Linked DNA regions of Homo sapiens: all the other regions are linked to region 3. Evidence: promoter capture Hi-C in 16 types of primary human blood cells and fetal thymus (Javierre and others, 2016). All regions are on one chromosome and are shown on one strand. Each heading gives the region's core, a stretch centred on a gene start or on the middle of the fragment in contact. The rest is flanking DNA. Distances are from core to core; before and after follow the strand shown. Region 1 overlaps CTNND1 (catenin delta 1). Region 2 overlaps CTNND1 (catenin delta 1). Region 3 holds the start of CNTF (ciliary neurotrophic factor). Region 4 overlaps ZDHHC5 (zDHHC palmitoyltransferase 5). Region 5 holds the start of DTX4 (deltex E3 ubiquitin ligase 4).

Region 1 (2,700 bases), core at 12-2,511, 820 kb after region 3:
CAAAATTTTGTTTTATTCACTAACGGATCACACAAATAGATCACAACCCACAATCTGAAAAACTACTGCTCTAAATAAAGCAAGAACCACAAGCTTAAATGTCTATATGGGTCAAGCCGGTGAGTCAAGAGAGGAAGATAATTAAAAGAAATTACAAGCATGTGAAAAAATAGCAGTTGACAGCTCCATGTTTGGGAAACAACTTCCTAAACAGCTGTAGTTGGTCAGATAATAGAATGTGTTGGAGATTAGTGTAAATTAGAGAGCACATGCTCCAATCAGTTCAGACCAAATACTGCTAAGGAAGAAAAGAGATCCATTGTTAACAACTCTTCCACGTTTTTAATAGAAGCCAAGAATCTGGAATTTTAAGTGAAATCTTCTGAATTTTAAACATCAGCAACCAGTTCTTTAAAATTTCAATAATGCTGTGTGATCCAAACAAATCTGTGAGATGGATTTGACCCACAGCCACCAGTTCACAACCTTTCATCAAAAGTAAAAGGTCTGGAAATCCCTCTAGTTCTCAACATCACTAGAGAGTAACACTGACTTAGCAATTTTCCTTAGGCCTAGAACTCACCGGTAATAACTTCAGTAAGGTCCATATCACGAGCCTTTCGAAGCAATCGCACAAGGGCAGGCACACCATCACAGTTTTTTATGGCAATCTTGTTATCCTGGTCACGTCCAAAAGAGATATTCTTGAGAGCTCCACAGGCTCCAAGGTGCACTTCCTTTTTGGGATGGTCTAACAATCCCACCAGTACTGGGATGCCCTTGAGCTTCCGCACGTCAGTCTTCACCTTGTCATTGCGGTAGCATAAGTGTTGCAGGTATGCAGCTGCATTGGACTTGACAGCATCCAAGCGGAATCCAAGCATGGCGATCACCTCTGGCAGCTCTGGCTGTCTCCAATTAGGAGGTGGAGGCCCTCCTTTGCGCAGGCTATCCAAGCTTGCTAAACTTCCTCGCTCATGCTGGGCCAAAGGAGCCCAGTAGTATTGATCCGATGGCACCTCCTCACCAATCATGTCTTCATAGCTCCTGAGAAGTTTTGGAAGAACCAAGAGAATACATCAAGTCATTATGGCTAGCTTCCTGGACATTCCCATTACCCTCATCTGCAAAGGAGGATTAACTGGAGTTTCAGTGTGCTCATCTTATCTCTCCTTTGCATGAATAATATACTGATCAATTTTCCTCAATGGGTTAGTAAAAATAAAAGGTAATAATTTTAAAAACACCTGCAATTTAATTAAAACTACATTTTTTTCTTTGAAGTCTGCAGGCTTAGAAAGTAACAAGCATTCAGGAAAGGCTAATCAAAAAGAAAGAACCAAATCCTTACTACTTATCATTTATTTGAATGATATCTGACAGTTATTAACTTGTCTAGGTAGAGATCAGGATAAACTCTCAGAGAACAGAATTAACCAAAGCAACTGACTCAATGCCACAGAAGTCTGAGAACAGTTCCTTAACCAAACAGGAAATTAGGCATTTACACACAGGAAACAACTGGTAGGATAAGACCTTTAAATACATTTCATATTTAAGCTTCTCCTTATCCTATTTTGGAAATTATAAAAGATGGATTGATAGAGAAAAACTAATAAAGGGCTTCCTGCTACATCACAGGAGGATCTGGCTTTGGTACTGATGAGGTATAAACTTGAAAAGTAATTTTCACAGTCATTCCAAGGTCATGTCTGCTACTCAACAAATGTGTTAAGAGGTAAGATTCCATCCTCCAATTTCTAAAGACAATACCTCCAGCTCTTTCAAAATGAAGCCTATTCACCAACATCACATTTGGGAAGCCCAGCCACTAGGAACAGAGAAAGCAATTGAAAGTAAGAAAAATCAAACCAGGAGACAATTCTTCCTGTTTCAGTACTACCAACAACCACTAGAGGGTGAGTCTGTCACACTATTATTTATTCGTAACTACCAGGAAGGAAGAAACCCATTATCTGTGAGCTCATCTCTTTCTGGCTCCCACAGGAGAGGATAATCTATTGTGTGGAGCTCTCCAAATAAGCCATTGTTTGTTCTACAAAACCACTCCCACTGTCAACAAATACTCAAGGTTGCCCTGAGCAGAAGGCCTGCCTCACAGGTATCAACATCAACTATGCAACAGTGATTCAGATGGACAAAGCATTTAGTAAACCATGACCAAGATGGTCTTAAAATAACACGGAAACAGGACCAGGCATGGTGGCTCACATCTGTAATCCCAGCACTTTGGGAGGCTGCAGTGGGCGGATTACCTGAGGTCAGAAGTTCGAGACCAGCATGGCCAACATGGAAAAACACCATCTCTACTAAAAATACAAAAATTAGCTGGGCATGGTGGTGGGCACCTGTAATCCCAGCTACTTGGGAGGCGGAGGCAAGAGAATCGCTTGAACCCAAGAGGTGGAGGTTGCAGTGAACTGAGATTGTGCCACTGCACTCCAGCCTAAGTGACAGAGCGAGACTCTATTTCGAAGAAAAAAAAAAAAAGGTCAAGATTAAACCCTTCAAATCAAGAAGGGGGTACTAAAAATGCCCAAACAGCTGGTAAAACAAAATTGGTTGTCTTCTAAACTATTATGTATCACTTTTGCATCCACCCCAACCATAAAAATTTTCTGCTTACTATAAAATTAAGGAAAAGTATTTACTAACATTATAAAATACCATGCATGGAAC
Region 2 (2,700 bases), core at 46-2,545, 800 kb after region 3:
ACCTATCTTACCTCCTCCAGCTTTCTCTTCATCCATGTCTGTCTCTAAATCCTGGATGGATCAGTTGAAGAACTAATGCTTTAAGTGACACAGGCAACAGAACAGTCTTAAAGCTGTGTGAAAAAAAATTGTTCCTAACAATTATCTTGTTTCTTTTTTGAGCTTTCCTGAGGTAGCTCTTTCTGGAAGCTACCAGAGTGATTTAAGTTTCCAGATGTGGTCTCCTTGGCTTTAGCCAATGGGGCCACTTGCTCGCCAGTTGAGATACCCTTTGTAGCTAGAAGTGACACTTAAGTCAAAGTCGGCAATTCCAGGGGATTCTCTGTGACCTACAGGACCCCAAATTAAGGGCTAGCTTCCTGCCTCAGCAACCTGAGCATTACCTACATATGATTTTCAGGATGAGAAGCTTCTCCTACCCAGATACCACACACCAACCTATCACTTACCATTATCTCAAACTCTATTGAAAGCAATGCATTCCTTTGAGATAAAGTTTCCTCTATGAATGCTCTCTTAAAATGGTGATCACCACATCATATTGTCTACATTCACCATGCTAGTATTACTGCCAGTGGAGTTGAAGCCAGTAATCCTGGGTTCCACTTTGAGGCTATAACCTTAAGCAAGTCACTAGATCAGTCCCTTAAGTCACAGTTAACTGACCACATACATCAGAATAACCTGGATGGGCCAGGCATGGTGGCTTATGCCTGTAATCCCAGCACTTTGGGAGGCCTAGGTGGATGGATCACCTGAGGTCAGGAGTTCAAGACCAGCCTGGCCAACATGGTGAAACCCCGTCTCTACTAAAAATACAAGTATTAGCTGGATGTGGTGGCGGGTGCCTGTAGTCCCAGCTCATCAAGAGGCTGAGGCAGGAGAATCGCTTTAATCCGGGAGGCAGAGGTTGCACTGAGCTGAGATCGTGGCATTGCACTCCAGCCCGGGTGACAAGAGTGAAATTCCGTCTCAAAAAAAAAAACAAAAACAAAAACAAAAAAAAAGAGGATAACCTGGATGACTTACCATGATTTTAGATTCCTCAGTCCCACCTACTGAATCGATTTTTGGAAATGGAACATGGGACTCTGCATTTTCAACAAGCATACAGGGAATTCTTATGTAACTTGCTCAGATATACAGGGCTAGGTCTAGTCAATTCCATCTATGAAAATATTAAGAACCTTTGCTTCAGATATAAAAATAGACAAAATGAGAAAAAAATGATATGGAAAGACTGGTTCTTAGTTCTTCCTGGGTGAGGTGATTCCAGTTTGTAGCAAAGAAAATTAGTTCAGCAAGAAAAACAAGTGGCCGGCCATGCGCAGTGCCTCACACCTGTAATGCCAGCACTTTGGGAGGCCAAGAAGGGTGGATCACTTGAGGTCAGGAGTTTGAGACCAGCCTGGCCAACATGGTGAAATCCTGTCTCTACTAAAAATACAAAATTAGCCAGGCGTGGTGGTACACACCTGTAATCCCAGCTACTCGGGAGGCTGAGGCAGAAGAATCGCTTGAACCCAGGAGGCTGAGGTTGCAGTGAGCCGAGATTGTGCCCCTGAGTGACAGAGCAAGACTCTGTCTAAAAAAAAAAAAGTGGCCAAGTGAGGTCCCAGCTTTGACCTCTGTCACAAAGTACATCAGTGTCAAGAAACTTGTGAGATAGGGCCTTTACACATCATTCTGTGTAACATCTCATTGTATTTAGATATGGCACAGAGAGAAGTGTTTTTAAGATCATAGATCTTGTCTATGGCCATATCACCCTGAACGCACACGATCTCGTCTGATCATAGATCTTAGCTATAGAGGATTCTCATGGATTGCAATCTATGAGAAAAGATCCATCTGTTTCACTCTCTAATCTAAACCTAACCTTGACACAACGCTTAGCATATAGGAGGTGCTTGGCAAATATTTATTGAATGAGATAAACAAATGGACCAATCCAGAAGGAAGAGAGAAGAGTAGGGTTTGTATCTAGCTCAATGCCAAAGGATAAGAACATAACAGGGAAATAAAGTGTTGCTGACAAGCAGCCAGGCTTTTCTATTTAGATAAAAATCATCTCAAGCAGGGCTATCAAAACTCTTTGGAAAGTAAACTCTTAATAGCTTTTTGGCTTTGTACTTCAACCTCTAATCTAACACTACAATTGTTAGACACAAATCAAGCTTTAAAAGCTAGTTGATTTCCTGGTCTCACTAGCCCATGAAAGTTTTCATACCCAAGTCCTAGTTCAATAAAACAAGACAGGACCATCATCAGGAGCAGCTATATAATTTTAATCTAAAGATTTGGGCATACAGAAAGCATTTCACATAAATTCTCTTGAGTCTTTAATTATATGACAGGACATAAGGACCTCAGAAAAATAAGTATCTTCCCATAGATCTTAACCCTTGATCTCTGCAGCAAAGATAGTCCCTGGTAATCCAGGTAATATGGTCTGTAAAATATTAATAAATAGGCCTATTGACTTCTGACTAAAGGACTGCATATAGCCTGAGAAGCAACATTATGGCCCAGTGGTCAGTACTTATATACATGGGCCTTTTGATCCTACATTTTCCTATTACGTAGTTGGGATTGGTAGTTTCTAATCTTCTAGTCCTAAGTGTTATATTTAAGAGAGCTACGTATTACAGTGGGCCTTATTCAAGGTTAGTTTTGTCAAATGTTGCAGAAGAATTCCAG
Region 3 (2,700 bases), core at 154-2,653:
GGTTGATGTTCTTGTTCAGGCCCTGATGCTTCACCTGGCCGAGGATACAGGAAAACACCACATCTTCTGTCATCACCCCAGTGTCCTTAAATCACCCCTAAATTTCATACAAAATCTCACTCATCTCTCTGGCCAAGGATCCAAGTTGTAAAGTAAATAATATGTCTACAGTAGGAACTCTTAATTTGGGCTCTATGACTGGACTTTAGAAAGACCCAATACTGCCTGAAATTGACTACCTATGGATTTTTCTTAGAAGAATGTTCAGATTTTATTGAGTTCTAAAGGTTGAAAACTGATTTAGAAGAATTTTTCCTTCTCACTTCAAACTCTCTCATTAACTGGAATATTTTAATCATATTAAAGTATTTTTAAACATACTTGTAAAAGACACTGGCCACAACTAGGAAAACTTGGAATATAGCCATTGTAGAATTTCTCTAACTTCCCTCTCCCCATTGAGCACTCCCAAAGAGTCTGATTTCTGTCTGGTGAGGCTGTACAAAGATAAATCAGTTCTCAGCCTAAATTCAAAACTCTCCACAGGGGTTGGAGTATTTCCACAGCATATCTCAGGTGGAAATTGATGGGGATCCCCTTACTGTTAGAAGACAAATCTGGAACTCCAGAATTAGCTCAAGAATTTGACACTTCCACAAGTTTCCAATGAATCTTCTAGGAGATCCTTTTGATAGCTTACCTTTCTCTTTAGACACAATCTACTTTTGATGCAGAATACTAAAAGGTGGGTGGCTAATGCTATATAGGAGAAATTGGTAGGATTTACAAATTCCTCCCACGTTCATAGTACTCTTCCTATCCCATAAACCTTTCATTTACATAGCTAAAAAATTCAGAACAATGGCTATGAAGAACCCAGAGGGCCCATGGCTAATCTGTTCTAGTAGTATTCAGAATATATGCCAATAAATTTGGAATAGCCTCCAAGACATATAAACCAATCCTTTCTAGAACTCCATATATATTTTCTCATTCAAGTAACTTCATCTCCTAAACAGCCCAGAGGAAGAAAATAAAGTCACATGGGTTTCCTCAAGGGAAGGGCCCATGTCAAATAACCTATATGAATGACTATATGATTAGAGCTTTCACAATTGGTAATGGAGCTGATGCGTGATGGTAAGTTGCTGGATCAAAAAAGATGAAGGGAAAACAGATAACAGCAAAATAGGCAACTTACATAGGATTCCGTAAGAGCAGTCAGGTCTGAACGAATCTTCCTTGCTAGCCAGATAGAGCGGCTACAGAGGTCCCGACGGTGAGGGGTCAGCGGTGAATGCTCTGTGAAAGCCATCCCTTAACTCAACTGTCCCAGGAAACAAGTCAGCTGGGTTTACTTCTGTCTATACTGGTCCAAATAAGAGATGTGACTCTCAAAGACTAAACCCACTGGGCATTCTCTACTAATGGGATTGTGCACCCCACCCCCACGCCCTGCCTGACTCAGAGGAGGTAGCAAATTCCTGGCTGTGGATTTTTGTGCCTGTGGAATCAAAGGGCCCTTTTTAATCAGATTTTTTTTCCCCTGCAGCGTCTGCCTCCATCTCTCTCCTCCACTCAGTACTTAGCACACTTGTTTCTATGTCATTGTTTTGCTTTTGCACTTAGCAACAAGGTCACTATCATACCAATCCTCATGGCACCCCTGCCTAATGTAATCTATCTCACACACTTAGAATTAGTTCATTTTATTATCATTCTCCCTTATGCTTCCCATGTCTTTTTTCTCATAGGCTGGCGAAATGTTCATTCAATAAAATTGTTATTGACACAGCTGCCATTTATTAAGTATCTACCATGGGTCAGTCAGTAAGCTAAATACTTTAAAGCAATTCCATTTGATCTTCAGAATATTTCTGAGGTAAATGTTATTTCTCCATATAAGAAACTGAAACTTCAAGAAATAACATGCACAAAATCAAGTAACGAGGCTTGAATTTAAATAGAAGTCTGATTCTATAGTTGTCTCTCCCACTGACTTTCCAATTTCATTTTCTGTTTAGGTAGTTCACATCTTGTTCAAGAAACAAAGGGTGTGTGAAGTCCTTTAAAAACAGGATTTTTTTCACTCCTAACCTTACGTACTTTTTAAAGGTAATTTAATTTATACTTAAAAATCAAGCAAGGAAGCATCTCTAATTTCAATCACGGTGCCTTCCTGGTAGCTACATAGGAGGAGGAAGGTACTGTTTAGGCCTGTTCTCTTCCAAAGAACAGGAAACACCCAACGCTAACTTGGTAACATTTCTAAAGCAGTCTCACTCAAGTGACAACATGCTTTCCTTTTTTCTCCCCTACCCAGTCATACCACATGCTTCTTAAAATAAGAGAATGAGCTGGGCTTTGAAATGACAGTATAAAAGTTAAAAGGTACTTGGAGGGTTGTCATTCTATTGCATTTAACTTAGAAAATGATGCTTATTGGGTAAGGGCTAAATGAAATAATTAGCTTTCATTATTTATATCATAGATATTGCCAATAAGCTGAAACACATACCATCTTAGAAGCAAATTTATAAAAGTAAACAATAAATGGGAGATGTAACAGAGCAGCCTGGGCAGCTATCACAGCATGGCTTTTGGAAGGCAGAAGGATTATAGTTTTTTCTTTTTTAAAATAAAAATCAGTACTTGATATAAACATTCAATTTTGAGAAGAAGTATTAATATTAAATGCTA
Region 4 (2,700 bases), core at 153-2,652, 940 kb after region 3:
TGTAAATCCAGCCTTGAATTCAAGTTCTCATCTGGTTTATTTCCACAGCCTCCCAAAAGGTAGCTGTAATTCTTACACGAATTATTTTTCTAAAAGGAATTCTGATGTTGAGTCCTCCAATTAAAGACCTCTTCCTATCCAAAGGAAAATGTATGATCTATTTAACTTAGTATGTAAAGTCCTTGACAATTTGGCTCTGGGTTTACCTCCCATCCCTCTGGTCACACCATGCATAACATCCTCTAGCCCCACTAAGTTTGCCATTTCATGGCTACAAGCTTCTGCATGTGCTGTTTCCTCTGCCTAAAAATGCCCTTCCCTCCTATATTCTACTTGGTAAAGTCTTTCCCACCTATTTTCAGCAGCATTTCCCCAATTTATTTGGGCAAAATATGTTCTCATATTTCTTTGTTCTCAATTGTTTGTATTCTCACAGAACCTTGCTCTTGCCTCCATTATAGTCTGCATCACACTGTCATAACTGTCTTAATTCACTGTGGGTATTACTGTACCTAAAAATAGCATCCAACCCATATGCTTTAAATAAATTTCTGCTGAACAAATCACTAAAACTCAAAGATTTGACCCAAAGTGAATCATAGGACTAGAAGTTATGACATATATTCCTAAAGACCCTGACCTGATTTTCATCATCAGAAAATGATAAAAGTATCCCAAAATCCCCGGACTTTAAGGCCCAAGATCAACTGCGTATGCCCAAATCATTATTTTTCATATCCCAAAATCCCAGGACTCTTAAGGCCCAAGATCAACTGTGTATGGCCAACTCATTATTTTTCAAAGGCAGTGTAAGGTGCTTCTAAGAGAGAAGCAGATCTTACCTCGAGGGAAAATCCCTGGGTCCATGAAGGTGGCCATGCTGAAGTTGGCCAACACAAAGAGAAACATAATTGCATTGTAGATGGGCACTGCAGGTGACACATACAGGCTTAGTCCTGGACACCTGCACAGACAATAAAGAAAATGAGGGGTTGCCTCTAATATTTTGGACACGAACCATACATACAAAAATCTGTAAAGACTTAGCCCCTTACCTATAGATAAATCTTGTGTGGTTTACCTTTGCCATCCCAAATTATTATCTTTATCTTTCCCACTAAGTGAGTCTAGTTTCCTATGGGAACTGCTCACTTTAGATAAAAGTACAAGACTCAGAATCTCTCCCATCTTAACCTGTTGCACTAAGGTCTTTGTGCTTCAGATTCATTCCTACCCTGTGGATCTTGCCACATGTTTTGAGATCTGTCCTTATCTCCTTTCTAACCAGACATGAGAACCAGGTACTGACTATGATATCAGCTACACTCCCTTCTCTGGAGCAGCCTGAGGTTTCTGGATCCCAGCTATGTCCCATTGACCTGCACATTGGCCCAAAGCATGGGATACCACCTACCTTTCTAGCCCCCGCCTCCCCCTTGCCAGGGGACTGAACCACATAAGTGCCTAAAGTATCTCCATTGCATTGGATATGCCTGAGAGTTTACTCAACTACAGGCCAGTTCTTAAGGTTGGGAAATTCTTTTAAAACACACAGATGAGAATGGATATCAAGACACAGAAGTAAACCCTTTGATGTCTAAAAATGAAGCAGGAATGGGGGAGGATAGAGACTATCAGACCAAAGAAGCCCTCAATTTTGTAGGAAAAAGAAACTACCCAAACATACCCAGTATTCCACAGCAGTCAACTCAAGATATGCTTTAAGGTAACTTTTCTTGATCAAAAAAACAATTCTCTAGTCCAGAATTAAACTCAGTTTCTTTCAGGATTTGAATCTACGTAGGAATGCTTCAAGAGCTCTTCCTTTCTCTGCTGATTTCCTGGGAGCTGGAAGTTTTGGAAGAACCTGATGTGCTACTTTTTTGTCAGTAGTATCAAACACTCTCGTCTCAGCTCAGGGAGAAGTTCCCACTACCAAGACAGTGGATAAATACTCTAATCTACTTTGTGGCTGAGAACTTAATCTCCAGAATGAGGACAGCATCTGTCCTTGTCCCCTTTATCTGAACCAGTCAAAGCAAAGGAAGAACTCACTGAAGGAAAGGAAGAAGAGGACAGGAGAACAAGACAGCATATGATTCCAGAGAATTAAACCACAGCAGTCTGGGATTCTGTGAAGAAAAGGTATCTGCACCCACCAAAACAAAAAGCACAGCCCTGAGACTGACTCAGAGCAGTTTGGAGGAACTCAGTTCCTTAACGAGATACAAGCAAATCAAGATAAGAGACAAAACTGTCACAAAGCATCTCACAAATCTTTACCACCACCATCTATTTATTCAAATTCCATTCAGCCATTCATTTTGAAAAGTTTTTAGTATTTATTATATGCCAGGCTTTTTAGATAGTAAATATCCATTAGCTGTTTGGTTCTCTTGATATGTCAGTACACAATTAGCAGACAAAATAACGAAGCTGGAGCAAGGGCATCAATTTTAGGGACTAAACAGACCTTCAGTCATAGTTCTATACTATCCTCAAAGAAAGCCCCCCATGGAAGCTTCTTCCTCTGTGAGTTCTTTGGTTCAGAAAAGATGTCTCCATACATTGGCAGGGTTTGGAGTGGAATATAAGCAAAAAGAAGAGTTCCTGCACCGCCTCACCCCAAAGCCTGACCTCCTAGGTTCCTTAAGAAGGAGGGAGAGAAACTGAAAACCAGTCATCCAGGTCAGAGCCCCT
Region 5 (2,700 bases), core at 18-2,517, 550 kb before region 3:
AGCCCGGCGCTTCCCTTACCCGACTGTAGCGAGAACCTCCGGGGAATCCCTTCTTCCTCCCCCAGTTCCCACACCCAGGACCCAGCTGCGGGGAGGCATCCCACACAGGAGACGCAGAGGCAGTGAGATCGGGGGTGAGGGGACGTGTGGCAAGCCCCAGCGTGCCTGAAGCAAAACAGGGTCAGGTCAGCCAAGGTGCCGGCCGCCACGGGATGAGGGCAGGAAGCCTTTGCGAAGGGCTGGGATTGCCTGTAGTCTGGGGCGGCCCTAGAATTTCTACATAGAAAGACTTAGGGCCACCAACTGCTGAAAAGCGGGGGCATGAAAGGGGTGGGGAGTGGATTGTTACCGACTAGGTTGAAGCTGGGTTTGCAAAACCACAACACTGATACTATTTGCATGGATGTTTAAGGGGGAGGGAGGATCCTGCGAGGATTCAGCGGAGTGAATCGCCTCCCACCACCACCTCTTGGTGACACTGCTGCACAGAAGTGCCGACTAGGTGGCCAAGGTGGGTTCACAGGGAGGGAGGTACCTTGGCAGGTTGGGAAGGTGGGAGCAGGCGGGGCGGGGTCAGGGGCGGCTGGCTCACCCGTGTCTTGGCGGAACTGGTTCATGGACTGCAGGTCGATGATGTAGGGCGCGAGACGGCTGTCCACCTGGCCCAGCACCACGCTGCCCCCCGCGCGGGGGCCGGCGCGGACCACCGCCTCGATGTGGTGGCTCACCGCTGGGCTGTAGGGACGCCAGCGGCCGTGCTCGTTCAGCCATTCCCAGACCACCACGGCCGAGGCCAGGAGCATGGCGAGCCCGGGGCTGCGGCGCTGCGCGGCCCGCCTCCCGGGCCCCGAGCGCCCGACCTCCTCCGCTTCCTCCTGCGCCGCCGCCTCCGGGCCTCGACCGCGCCCCCTGCCCCGCGCCCCGCCGCCCCGGGCAGCCTCAGCTCCGGCCCATGGGCTCCTCCCCAGCCGTGCATCCACCGGGGCCGGGACACCGGGGCCGCCTGGCTGGGACCGCGCGCCGCCGCCGCCGCCGGGGTCCGCTGCTGCTGCCGCTGCTCTGTGGGGTCGAGTCGCTTCATGCAAATGCCCGGCTCTCTGCAAACAGGCCCCCGCCTTGCAAAAGCCACTCGGCGGGCGCGCGGCCCGAGCCCCGGCGGCCGCGAGCTGGGGCTGACGGCGAGGCAAGGACCCAGCCCTCGCACCAGTTGCGCCTCGGCCTCTGCAGACGCCGGGGTGGGATCTCGCCGCACGGCCGCGCTCGGAATGGCACGCTCTGGTCCCCTCCCCTCTCTCCCTCCCTCCCCACCCCTTCGCCGCACGAATTGCAGTCCCCGCCGCTGGGAGAGCTCCCCCTGCCTGTGGCTCTGCTCAGTTCCTTCCAGAATGAACCACCCCTCCCAAGCAGGGCGCTAAGGCAAACCCGCGCCCGCGTGTGTTTCCCTGGTTCCTTGATGCAGAGAAGCGACCCGCCATGACACGGCCCCGGGACCACCACTGTCGCCCAGCCGCAACTTTGCAGCCTCCTTCCCCCAAATGTAATTTTCTCTCTCTCTCTCTTTTTTTTTCCTTAATGCAGCATGATCAGTGTCCGCAGCGCGAACTGGAGACACGCATTGTCTCGGGGCTTGCGCACGCACTGGCACACTCACAGTCGCACACACACGCGCGCGCACCCCAACTCCTTCCTTGCCCCGGCTCCTATTACCTCATCCTCTCCCGCATCCTTAGCTGTCCGTCAAGGAAGCAGAAGACACGCCCCCTGCTGCTCGGGCGAGTGCCCTGGAGCTTACCCGCCCCCTGCTGGCCTAAAGTGTCGTGTGCCGGCCAGTGGCCACTCCAACCTCTGCTAATGAGACCCAGTCCAAAGGGATGCAGCAATTTCGCTAATGATGGATTTATATTACCTACGTAGAGAGCAAATGTGGTTTTTCTGGCCAGATTCAACGTACTAGAGTCAGGAAGACGCATGTTAGATTAATTTTATCTGCATCGTTTCTGTAACTAAAATTATGAAACACTAGGAAAAACACGAGTTAGACTTATTTTGATCATCAATAGTTAATATGGAAAATAACCTTAAATAGGTAGGTTCTGACTAAAAGGGAAGACTGAAGTCAGGATTATGCATTATCCTTGTCAAAGAACACAAATTTTGTTTTGTTGAGATTGCAAACCACATAAAACAACGAATCGAGTCTTATCAAGATCCAAGTTATAGGATGCGGGAAAGTAAAAATAGATTATGTGTTAGAGAATGGGATTGTGAATCTTTTTGAAATAATCAATTTTTTCATAAATATCATATGACCCTTTTATGTTTTAGAAGAGTTGCTTCCCCCTCCCTCTCCTTGCAGCTGTCATTTCTCCCATTGTTAGAATTTTGCATCCTTCTACCTTTATCTTTCTCCCAACAGAGTTCTAAATACAAAGCAAAAGAAAAAGTGTGAGATCTGTTCTTCTTCAGGCCCCTAAAGGCACCAGGCTCAAGGAACCTCTGAGCTTTGTTCTTTCTGGTCTTCTTGCACAGCTTGGCCTCCAAAATGCCTAGTCGGCCTCTCCCTTATTTGGGGACTGTTCCTAATCCAACCTAAACAATACCACTCATTAAAATGTCGAGTTTCAGAATTAGAAGAACAAAAAGAAAACAAGGATACCTCGACTAATTATATCATAGGCCATTATTATTACCATTTTACAA

The links. Contacts are between HindIII fragments. The CHiCAGO score rates a contact against its expected background, and 5 or more counts as called.
Region 1: a fragment that was not itself captured here is called in contact with the fragment with the promoter of CNTF in region 3 in 1 of 17 cell types (total CD8 T cells); the score reaches 6.9 in total CD8 T cells.
Region 2: a contact is called between a fragment that was not itself captured here and the fragment with the promoter of CNTF in region 3, in 4 of 17 cell types (total CD4 T cells, naive CD4 T cells, naive CD8 T cells and 1 more). The highest score is 7.8, in total CD4 T cells.
Region 4: a contact is called between a fragment that was not itself captured here and the fragment with the promoter of CNTF in region 3, in 3 of 17 cell types (naive CD8 T cells, monocytes and naive CD4 T cells). The highest score is 8.3, in naive CD8 T cells.
Region 5: the fragment with the promoter of DTX4 here is called in contact with the fragment with the promoter of CNTF in region 3 in 5 of 17 cell types (total B cells, naive B cells, neutrophils and 2 more); the score reaches 8.8 in total B cells.

What each region holds. Positions count from the first base shown.
Region 1 is chr11:57,800,080-57,802,779 of GRCh38, reverse strand. CTNND1 (catenin delta 1) reads right to left here. Exons shown (of 21, transcript NM_001085458.2): 7 at 584-1,047. It overlaps TMX2-CTNND1 (TMX2-CTNND1 readthrough (NMD candidate)), which reads right to left. Exons shown (of 21, transcript NR_037646.1): 8 at 584-1,047. Among named protein-coding and RNA genes, the nearest start is that of CTNND1, 40 kb to the right of the region's middle. RefSeq lists an enhancer at 2,028-2,267. The HindIII fragment of the contact is 603 bases long and covers 960-1,562 here.
Region 2 is chr11:57,818,748-57,821,447 of GRCh38, reverse strand. CTNND1 (catenin delta 1) reads right to left here. Exons shown (of 21, transcript NM_001085458.2): 21 at 1,908-2,700. TMX2-CTNND1 (TMX2-CTNND1 readthrough (NMD candidate)) reads right to left here. Exons shown (of 21, transcript NR_037646.1): 21 at 2,268-2,700. Among named protein-coding and RNA genes, the nearest start is that of CTNND1, 58 kb to the right of the region's middle. The HindIII fragment of the contact is 1,768 bases long and covers 412-2,179 here.
Region 3 is chr11:58,621,368-58,624,067 of GRCh38, reverse strand. It overlaps CNTF (ciliary neurotrophic factor), which reads right to left and starts at 1,403. Exons shown (of 2, transcript NM_000614.4): 1 at 1,202-1,403; 2 at 1-34. The coding sequence starts at 1,315. ZFP91 (ZFP91 zinc finger protein, atypical E3 ubiquitin ligase) reads right to left here. Exons shown (of 11, transcript NM_053023.5): 11 at 2,518-2,700. It overlaps ZFP91-CNTF (ZFP91-CNTF readthrough (NMD candidate)), which reads right to left. Exons shown (of 13, transcript NR_024091.1): 12 at 1,202-1,302; 13 at 1-34. The HindIII fragment of the contact is 9,454 bases long and covers 1-2,700 here.
Region 4 is chr11:57,680,686-57,683,385 of GRCh38, reverse strand. It overlaps ZDHHC5 (zDHHC palmitoyltransferase 5), which reads right to left. Exons shown (of 12, transcript NM_015457.3): 3 at 843-964. Among named protein-coding and RNA genes, the nearest start is that of ZDHHC5, 14 kb to the right of the region's middle. The HindIII fragment of the contact is 2,243 bases long and covers 281-2,523 here.
Region 5 is chr11:59,170,699-59,173,398 of GRCh38, reverse strand. DTX4 (deltex E3 ubiquitin ligase 4) reads right to left here and starts at 1,267. Exons shown (of 9, transcript NM_015177.2): 1 at 593-1,267. The coding sequence starts at 803. It overlaps LOC124902601 (basic proline-rich protein-like), which reads left to right. Exons shown (of 2, transcript XM_047427951.1): 1 at 1-134; 2 at 669-2,700. The coding sequence ends at 1,477. RefSeq lists enhancers at 201-310, 1-581, 1,209-1,503, 1,590-2,130 and silencers at 651-700, 761-1,330. The HindIII fragment of the contact is 13,201 bases long and covers 1-2,700 here.